3 separate regions of the Homo sapiens genome follow, and regions 1 and 2 are each linked to region 3. The links are contacts of gene promoters, found by promoter capture Hi-C in blood cells and fetal thymus (Javierre and others, 2016). All regions are on one chromosome and are shown on one strand. The core of a region is centred on a gene start or on the middle of the fragment in contact, and the rest is flanking DNA. Distances in the headings are between cores, read along the strand shown. Region 1 overlaps CCDC34 (coiled-coil domain containing 34). Region 2 holds the start of BTBD10 (BTB domain containing 10). Region 3 holds the start of PRMT3 (protein arginine methyltransferase 3).

Region 1 (2,931 bases), core at 336-2,835, 7.0 Mb after region 3:
CCTGGCTTAGGGTCTAGAATATAGTAGGGTCCTAGGAAACAGTTGTTGAAAGACAATCAGATCAGTGGGCTTTTCTTTTAAGAAATGACACTTTGAATATTAAATTTCCTTCCTTAATATTTATAACAAATGTGTTCAAAATGTGTGGCGCACACACTACAGCTCTACTTATAATCAAGAAAGGCTTGACAAGTGGCCATTTGTGAACAAGATATTTATTACAGCATGGTTTTCCTAATGGATAGTGGTAGAAAAACCAGGATAAAGCTGAATAAACAGCAGGCCCAGAGCACATTGTAAAATATTCCAGGAAAACGCTTCTCATTATCTTGTCTGAAGCTAACTTTGAGCTTAATCTCAGTTCTGACCAATACCCTTGAAGGTCAATGCATCCTCTAAACATGGCACTATTTATACCAAAAATACCTTGAGGTAATATCCATTATGTGCAGCTGATGCCTGAGCCTAGCTCAAAGAAGCCTTACCCGATTCGTTTTGCCAGTCAGATCAATATGGCAGGTGAGGCATGGAGAAAAGGCATAAAATCCCACACAGCTCTAGGTTGCTCTCTGCTTCACACAGAATACTCAAAACCCAGAACAATGAAAGGGCTGACTCAGGTTGCCTGCTCTCTTCATCCTGTCACCCCCAAGCTGTCCAGGGCACCAAAGAGAGGTCAGCAGTTTGACCTCAAAAGCCAGATTGTGGACTCCAGAACTCTTATCCCAAACCTGAACACCAGAACGTGGTTTACTGCACCTTAGTAGTACCTGTGGTTGGTTATTCTGAAAACATACTGATTGCTAGTGAAGTAGGTTGTAGTAAACAGGTCACTTTTTATAACACAAAGTGCTGAAGCACAGAGATTAGCAATGTCAACCTCAGCATGTGGAGACATGGTTAGATAGGATCTGAGCATGCACAGAGGAATGGATGTCATTGTATCAAAGAATGTTAGGACCAATGGAGAGAAAGAATGAGGAAATTTTCTAAAAATCTACCTTTCCTGAAAGGAAGTGCTAAGTTTCTGAAGCATTTGACAATAATCACTGCATGTATCTGTTCTTTAGGAAGTGGGAAATGGACATGCAGTCAGCAAACGTTTATTGAGCACCTAATAAGCATCTGACACTTGCCACACACAATGCTTGACAACTTCAGCATTCTCTTTTCAAACCCACGTCCCAGCTACTCCTTTGATTCATAGGGACTGAAATGTGATAAGGAAGGCAGCCTTAGCCCTGTGGTGCTACCAGCTCATTCTGGCTTTGGATAAGTGAGACGTACATACGTTCACCTCCTCCCCTGGCAGGCTCCACTTAGTCAGGGCTTTGGCTCTTGGAAACTAATGCAAGGTTTCAGTAGCTGAGCTATAGTTCCGATGGTCATTTATTCCGCAGGTCACTAACTTGTGTCCAGATTGCTTAGTCCAGTTGATTATGCTCAGAAAGTATTTCCTAAAGCCTTCAAATTTACTTTAAATACCTTTGAGACCAACTCAGTCCTGAAGAATACCTACAAAGGCCCAGATGAAAACAATTTACTGAAACCCTAACTCTACCATTAAATTTTACTATCAGGTTGATCAGAGGAGGCCTGTTTCTTGTTGCTACAACCAGCCTGGATGAGTGGCTTGCTTGGTTACTCTTTCTGATCTCCATTCCCACCAATGTACTTACTTTTACTTCTCATTCGTAACTAATTCACTCCTGTAACCATGTATACGGGTTACTTCATATGGGTTCCATATTCCATTCACTCATGCTGGATATGAACACCCTGTACTGAAGGGGGAATCTTGCTATTTACACATAAAGCATGAGTTCTCTGGCCTGTATTTCTTAGAGCTCCTGTACTGTGCCTTACACAGCTTGACAATCATAAACTTGTAAATGATTTCCGAAGAAAACGTAATGAGTCTATCCCAGAATAGACCTGCATTACTGGGCCTGTCTCAGAAATATTCCTTCAGGGATTGGCCCTTTGCTCCTACTTCTGTATACCCAATACTAGGCATGCAGTTTAGGAAAGAGAACATGATCTGTCTATCTTCGTAGTAGACCCAGGTCTGCTAATAACTAGGTGCATGCCTTTGAGTCACTTTTTGCATTCTGAGCCATGGTTTTATTATCTGTAAAATAAGTGGATTGATTTAGGCTTCAATTCATGAGAGTAGAGACCAGTATCTTGTTTACGGTCCCCAGTACGTAGACTAATATGTGGCAAACAATGTTTGCTGAGTGAGTAACAGTAGAAATAAACAAATTAAGACAGTTTTAATAACCCCATTGGTCCTAACATTGATACAATGACATCCATTCCTCTGTGCATGCTCAGATCCTCTCTAACCACGTCTCCACATGCTGAGGTTGACATTGCTAATCTCTGTGCTTCAGCACTTTATGTTATAAAAAGTGACCTGTTTACTACAACCTACTTCACTAGCAATCAGTATGTTTTCAGAATAACCAACCACAGGTACTACTAAGGTGCAGTAAACCACGTTCTGGTGTTCAGGTTTGGGATAAGAGTTCTGCAGTGCACAATCTGGCTTTTGAGGATTCATAGAACGCCTGAAATGGTAGCAGAGTTTTGTGTGTTTGAGACTATGTACATTTTTCTGGGAAGTGAGACTGCAGCAATCATAATATCTCAGGAAAAAAGGATTAAGAGCCATAGGAAATCTATGGTCATTTGCAAGAATTTGCACAGGGCTCTTTATGTGCAAAAAAAACCACGGCACCTCAGTCTGCAAGTGCCTGCTCTGCCTTTGGGGCGGAGGGCAGGAGGATGTTAGAAGGGGGTACTTAAGAGGGTCTAAGGAATCTTGAAAAGGGCTGAATCGGCCGGGCGGCCTCGGGTTTACCTGGCGCACCCCTGTAACTCCATTCCTCTCAGGCTCGCCACTTTGGCCTCTGAATCATGGGCATC
Region 2 (2,991 bases), core at 492-2,991, 6.9 Mb before region 3:
CCCAACTAGGTATGAATCAGATTATGTGATTAAATTACTTCACATTAATGGGTAAATGAGGCTTAATCCACAAAGGTCAATTCCACACGTCATTAAACTCTACTATGTATAAGGCACTAAGTTTAATCAATTAATATACCTATCCTTCTTACAAGAAAAACTAACACAAATCAATCTTTTAATGAACAATGTAAGGAAGGGGCACAAGAGTGTTTGCTTCACATCACACTTTCTCCACCCAGTTCTTTCCATCCTGTTGCCAAACCCCTCCAATCTCCATCTGGCATGGAATAAAATCCAAGGGATCAGTATTTCTTCCAGTAAGTCAATGCCTAGGAAGACAATGTGGGATAGCACAGCAAACAATAAACATTCAAATCCTGAAATGGACTGTAGAGGGTCTCTTGTATTTAATTTTATATATTAGCTGCAAATACAATAAAGAGCTTCTAAATAATTCAATTTCTGTACAAGATACCTATAAATCAGCTTTGCTCAGAACTCTGAGTTTTTAAACCATAAATACTGAGATGCTTTTTCTTCAGTTATTTCCACAGTTAAAACGTTTATAGTAAATACCAGTTCAAATTGCCCTACTATAACTATACTTAAAGGCTATTAAACTTAACTACTGTTTTCAATTAGATGTGACATTTTTCCCAAGACCCCTTAAGTTTGAAACTCCAAACTTGCTTTAAACCTCCTTTTTTTCCAGTCATAAAATTTATTAATTTTGATTTATAACAGAGCTTCTAAACTGGAGAGGAGAATACAACTATGGACAGGTTTGGATTTGATTCAGTCACATGATATTTTTAATGGTTTTAATTAGTTGTCAATATTTTTAAGACGCAAGACACTGAATGCAAAAATCTAGATTTCCGAGTTCTCTTGAGAATGCTGAAGATGGGGTCCATATTCTTATATAGCACTGATTAGGGGGACCTGAGACTTGGATGTCTCTCTGATAAGGCATAGTGCATTTCCCTCATTTTCATTATCTAACTAGTACCCGAAGGCATGTGAGTTTGTTGCTCATGCTATGGCTTTGAAAGGTGCACAATATTTTCCATATCACTTCCATACTTCCCTAAGTCACCTATTATAAAAAGCCAAAAGCAGACCACAGTGGTTTGCAACTCCATAGTTAATAATTTAAAAAATTCACATGGCTTAGAGGGAGTGAGAAAGAAGAAAATTCAGACTGGTGGAAGGGTAACATAATTACATAGGGTTAGAAGTCTATCTGAAAGCTTTTCTGGGAGTGAGAAAAAAGGTGAACGAACACAAAAACATTGTTGAAACACTAAAAGCTTTCCTGATTGAACACTGTTACTCTCTGGTGGTTCCTTACCACATTCCATGCTTCAGAAACTTCCTTCCTACTTTGTATGTATTAATATAATAGCTGTTAGGTCATACACGCTGAGAAATATTGGGAAAATTTATAAAACACATTTACATCATCAGAAATAATTCTTCTCACACTTTTTTTTTTTTTTTTTTTACCAGTCTTGGTCCACTTTCAAATCCCTTCCCAAGTATTTTCTACTGCTTTCCGCTTTATATTCAAATGACAACTGCAGTCCTGGGTTTCAGGACTGAACTTCAATCCTGGACAGGCTCTCTAATACAGAAACTCTTTTGGCCGTTATGGCTGCATTCTTTATTATATCTCTTATTCCGATTTCCACAGTCTCTTTCATTGAAAATTTATCCCTAACCCCCTCTCTAAAAGATTTTGATCAAATTTGTGTAGTTGGGGGGTTGGGAGGATAGGGGCGGGAAGGAACTCAGTTGTCCAAATACAATTAATATCCTGTGCTGTTTCATTTAGATTGCTAATTTAAATAAAAAGCATGAAAACTCTGCAAGATAATAAATCTTCGTAAAATAATCTTGTTTACTAAGTGCACAAAGCCACAAGCAAGTGAAGCTCTATCTTTCAGCATGTCTGGACTAGTGACTTTTCATCATGGACTCAGAATACTGAGAAAGGAGAAGCAGGAAATCTGTGAGGCCCAGGGACAGTCACACTGGCCCACACTAACAAATTACTAACCGATGTCTCACCTTCCCCCGCCCCATTCCCAAAGATAAGGGTGTCAGGGCACCTGCATCTGAAGAAGAAAGACATCAGAACCTTTTCCGTGCAAGTTTTAAGAAAACAAAGCTTTACCACACGTAAAATGGTTACAACATAAAACCACGCAGCACGTTAGTGGGGTCTCACTCCTCTTCACCCAGAGGGAGGCTGCCCACCACCTTATCCCCTATTGTGATGCGCCTTCCTCAGGATGTCGCTGCGTTCGTCTGAGATGACAGGAAAGGGGCGGGGCACGGGGTTCCTCTGCCCTGGAAAGGGATGAGGGTATCGCCTTCATCCCCGGAGAAAGGCCCCCGGACTCCCAACCCAAAAGCAGCAGCCGCAAAACTCAAGTCTTATCCCGGCCTCTCCTAATTGGGTGCTCGTGGCCGGAGCCCAAAACGCCACCCACGGTACCCGAGCAGGGTCCGGCCGCCCAGACCACCGCCGCAGCAGCCTGGCTCTCACGCCCAGATTCGCCCTCCGCCCCTTTCCTCTTTCGCCCCGGCCAAGCCCAGCCTCCCGCGCCGCCCCCGCCGAGTTCCCCAGCTGAGTCCACTCACTCTCGAACCTGTAGTCCCCCTTCAGTGCCCACACAAGATTGGGGCAAAGGCCGGGGCCAGTGACACCTCCACTTCCTCCTCAGCCAGATCCCTCCGGAGGTGGCTGTGGAGGAAGCCACTGAGGCGGCTGCGCGTAGCGGAGCCGCCCCGGCAGGTTGCAGGCCGGCTCCTCAGCCTCTTACCGCGAGAGCTCACAATGCGAAGAGGCGAGGCCAGCAGCGTTCTCGCGAGAACGGTGCTCTCCGCCCAGGGGTGGGCGGGGCACCGAAGGAGAAGGCAGTTGAGGGCGCGGCGGCCACGGGTGGGATCTCAGGCGCGTGGAGAGGAAGGCGCCGCGCGACC
Region 3 (3,024 bases), core at 407-2,906:
AGGCAGGATTATGCAGGGCCTGATAGGCCAATTAGATAAACTCTGCTAGAGCCTGGGGCACTCCCTCCTAAGCAAGAATTCTGGGCCGGGCGGTGGCTCGCGGGCAGGTGGATCACCTGAGGTCGGGAGTTCCAGACCAGCCTGACCAACATGGAGAAACCCTGTCTCTACTAAAAATCCAAAATCAGCCGGACGTGGTGGCGCATGCCTGTAATCCCAACTACTCGGGAGGCTGAGGCAAGAGAATCGCTTGAACCCGGAAGGTGGAGGTTGCGGTGAGCCTGAGATCGTGCCATTGCACTCCAGCCTGGGCAACAAGAGCGAAACTCCGTCTCAAAAATCAAACAAAAAAAAGTTCTATGGTTTGAAGAGATATAAGGAAAGGAAGAAAGGGACGTGGCATGAGGCAGGCAGGGGAACATTTGTGTTCTTCCCCACACAGCAGCCAGATTGTTACTTTCTCAACACATCTGAGAGCATCACTCCCTGGCTTAAATAGTTATGTCTGAGCACTTTACATGTATTAACTCGTTTTATCCTTACTGTAGTTCTGAAGTTAGTCCAGGTTTTTTGTTTTTTGTTTTTTTTTTTTTAAGATGGAGTCTTGCTCTGTTGCCCAGGCTGGAGTACGGTGGCACAATCTCGGCTCACCACAAGCTCCGCCTCCCGGGCTCAAGCAATTCTCCTGCCTCAGCCTCCCAAGTAGCTGGGATTGCAGGCGCGTGCCACCACACCTGGTTAATTTTTGTATTTTTAGTAGGGACAGGGTTTCACCATGTTGGCCAGGCTGGTCTCCAACTCCTGACCTCAGGTGATCCGCCCGCCTCAGCCTCCCAAAGTGCTGGTACTATAGACGTGAGCCACCGTGCCCTGCCCAAGTGCAGTTATTATCCTTGTTTTGTATTTGATGAAACTGAGGCAGAGAGAGGTCGAGTAACTTGCCCAAGATCACAGTTACAAAGTGACGTGGGTAGGATTCAAACCCAGCAGGCTGCCTCTAGAGTTCACGTTCTCACTTAACCAAAGATTAAAATCCGTCTTGGGGGGTTTGACACCTATCTGTCCCTGCAGTAGACCCACCCTGGCCCATGCAGTTCGTTCCCTCTCGCCAGCTGCACCCCCTCCAGGACCTGGGAGCCCAGAAACCAGCCGAGCCTCCAGCGTTTGGCCTCCTCCGCCACCAGAGGGCGTCATGGGCCGATCGCCCCTCCGCTAACCGCTCATCCCAGGAAAAAGGGGCGCACAGAGGACAGGATGCCAACCCCAAAACCGCAGCGACGTCTCTCTGCCTTGGGGCTCACAGCAGCGGGCCGCGACCTCCCACTAACGCCTGCCGCAACCCAAGGAGGAGACAAAAGTCATCTTCCGGGCTGCAACATTAACCGTCATCAGCGCGCCTCTTCAGCGCGCACTGCGCCAACCCTGCGGCAGGAGGAGGCGGAGCCCCCGCTCTCGCCCCGCCCCCACCTCACGTGACCCGCACGGCGCCTCGAGGCCGGAAGCGATTGCGAGCCAGCGCGCGCGCTTCGGCGTTCCCGGCGGTCTGCGAAGTTTCCGGAGCCCGGGTCCCGCCGCGGGTTCGCGCTTGTGCTCGCGCTCGTTCCTGGAGTCGGCGGCCGCTGCGCGCGCTCGTTGCCCAACCCGGTCCCCGCCCCCAGACACGCCGGGCTCTCGGGGCACCACAGCCATGTGCTCGTTAGCGTCAGGCGCTACCGGTGGGTACCCTGGCCCCTCAGCACCCGGCTCGTCCAGCCCCAGGCCGCGCCGCTGTGGGGCCGGTGGAAGACCCTCCGGGACACGGGCCCGGGCAGGGTGGGGGGCTCGCAGGGATCATGAAGGAGGTGCTGAGTGAGGGCCGCGGGCGAACGGGGCGGAGGAGAGCCCATCGTCACCTGCTCCTCGAGCCCCCGGGCCGCACCGGTGTCCGAGGCCGATCTGATTGTTGTGTGTGTGTGTTAGGCGGCCGGGGCGCTGTGGAGAATGAGGAGGACCTGCCAGAACTGTCGGACAGCGGGGACGAGGCCGCCTGGGAGGATGAGGACGATGCAGATCTCCCCCACGGCAAGCAGCAGACCCCCTGCCTGTTCTGTAACAGGTTCGTCCGCCTCAGCGCCTGGCCTCTGCCCTAGGGTGCCCGGGCGCGTGGGGTCTGTGTGCCCAGGAACGCCTTCGGGCGGGAGGCAAGCCAGAGTGGCCTGTCTTTGAATTCTGGAACCACTGGTCTGGGGTGAGGGCTTGTGGAGAAGGAGGACCCTCGGTAGTAGAGAGGGGGAACCGTGAACTGGAAGGCCGGTTGTACTGCAAGCTTTTGACTGGTAGTGCATTGAATCTGTGGTTCCCAAATCTTGTCACTTGAGACGCTGAAAACAAAATGATACTGAACTCTGCACCTGAATCCTTCCAAGTCAGGGATGGGGTCTAAGAATATTCTGTTTTTATGAGGACAAGATCGGAAGTAACAGTGAAGTTACTAACGAGTTACTACTAACGAGTAACATATTTGGCAGCCACCCTGAACTAGATAATCCCTACGGAGCCTTCCGGCTTTACCATGCTAATTCTTTGACCAGTACAGAGCTTCTCAGGTGAAACATTTCTTTTTTATTTGAGCGGTTTCCATAGTCTAAGAAGGAAGTTCACCTTACTTAAGTAGGACTTTTCACTTAAGGAAAAAGACTGTAGTATCAATAATTTGCTCAAGGTCACAAAGCTGTGGTGTGCTTATTTCCAAACTCACATTCTTGCCACTTAAAATTCTGCCTGTTAGTCTTGGGAAGCTTTGGCTCCTGTCCTAGGCAAGTAGGCATGAAAGAGGCCCGGTTGGCATTGGCCGGTGTTACTTTAATACATTTTCCAGTGTTCCCTGTATCTGGGCATGGTGCTGAGTGGTGGTGCGTTAGTGTTCTCATCTGTAGCCCCATTGGGTAGATAGAATGCCTGTATATATTCTAGTTGTCATAAAATATTTATTGAGCACCAGTGGTACCGTGGCTGTGATAGCCTCCATAAATAGTCGACATAACC

Evidence for each region. Contacts are between HindIII fragments. The CHiCAGO score rates a contact against its expected background, and 5 or more counts as called.
Region 1: a fragment that was not itself captured here is called in contact with the fragment with the promoter of PRMT3 in region 3 in 1 of 17 cell types (total CD8 T cells); the score reaches 9.7 in total CD8 T cells.
Region 2: a fragment that was not itself captured here is called in contact with the fragment with the promoter of PRMT3 in region 3 in 1 of 17 cell types (total B cells); the score reaches 5.4 in total B cells.

The regions. Positions count from the first base shown.
Region 1 is chr11:27,359,970-27,362,900 of GRCh38, forward strand. CCDC34 (coiled-coil domain containing 34) reads right to left here. Exons shown (of 6, transcript NM_030771.2): 1 at 2,867-2,931. Among named protein-coding and RNA genes, the nearest start is that of CCDC34, 1.8 kb to the right of the region's middle. RefSeq lists a silencer at 1,053-1,347 and an enhancer at 2,640-2,931. The HindIII fragment of the contact is 3,738 bases long and covers 1-2,931 here.
Region 2 is chr11:13,460,443-13,463,433 of GRCh38, forward strand. BTBD10 (BTB domain containing 10) reads right to left here and starts at 2,780. Exons shown (of 9, transcript NM_032320.7): 1 at 2,650-2,780. RefSeq lists an enhancer at 2,960-2,991. The HindIII fragment of the contact is 860 bases long and covers 1,312-2,171 here.
Region 3 is chr11:20,386,060-20,389,083 of GRCh38, forward strand. It overlaps PRMT3 (protein arginine methyltransferase 3), which reads left to right and starts at 1,657. Exons shown (of 16, transcript NM_005788.4): 1 at 1,657-1,715; 2 at 1,960-2,095. The coding sequence starts at 1,688. RefSeq lists enhancers at 1,365-1,534, 1,408-2,015, 2,016-2,622, 2,478-2,527 and a silencer at 1,368-1,927. The HindIII fragment of the contact is 3,061 bases long and covers 1-2,303 here.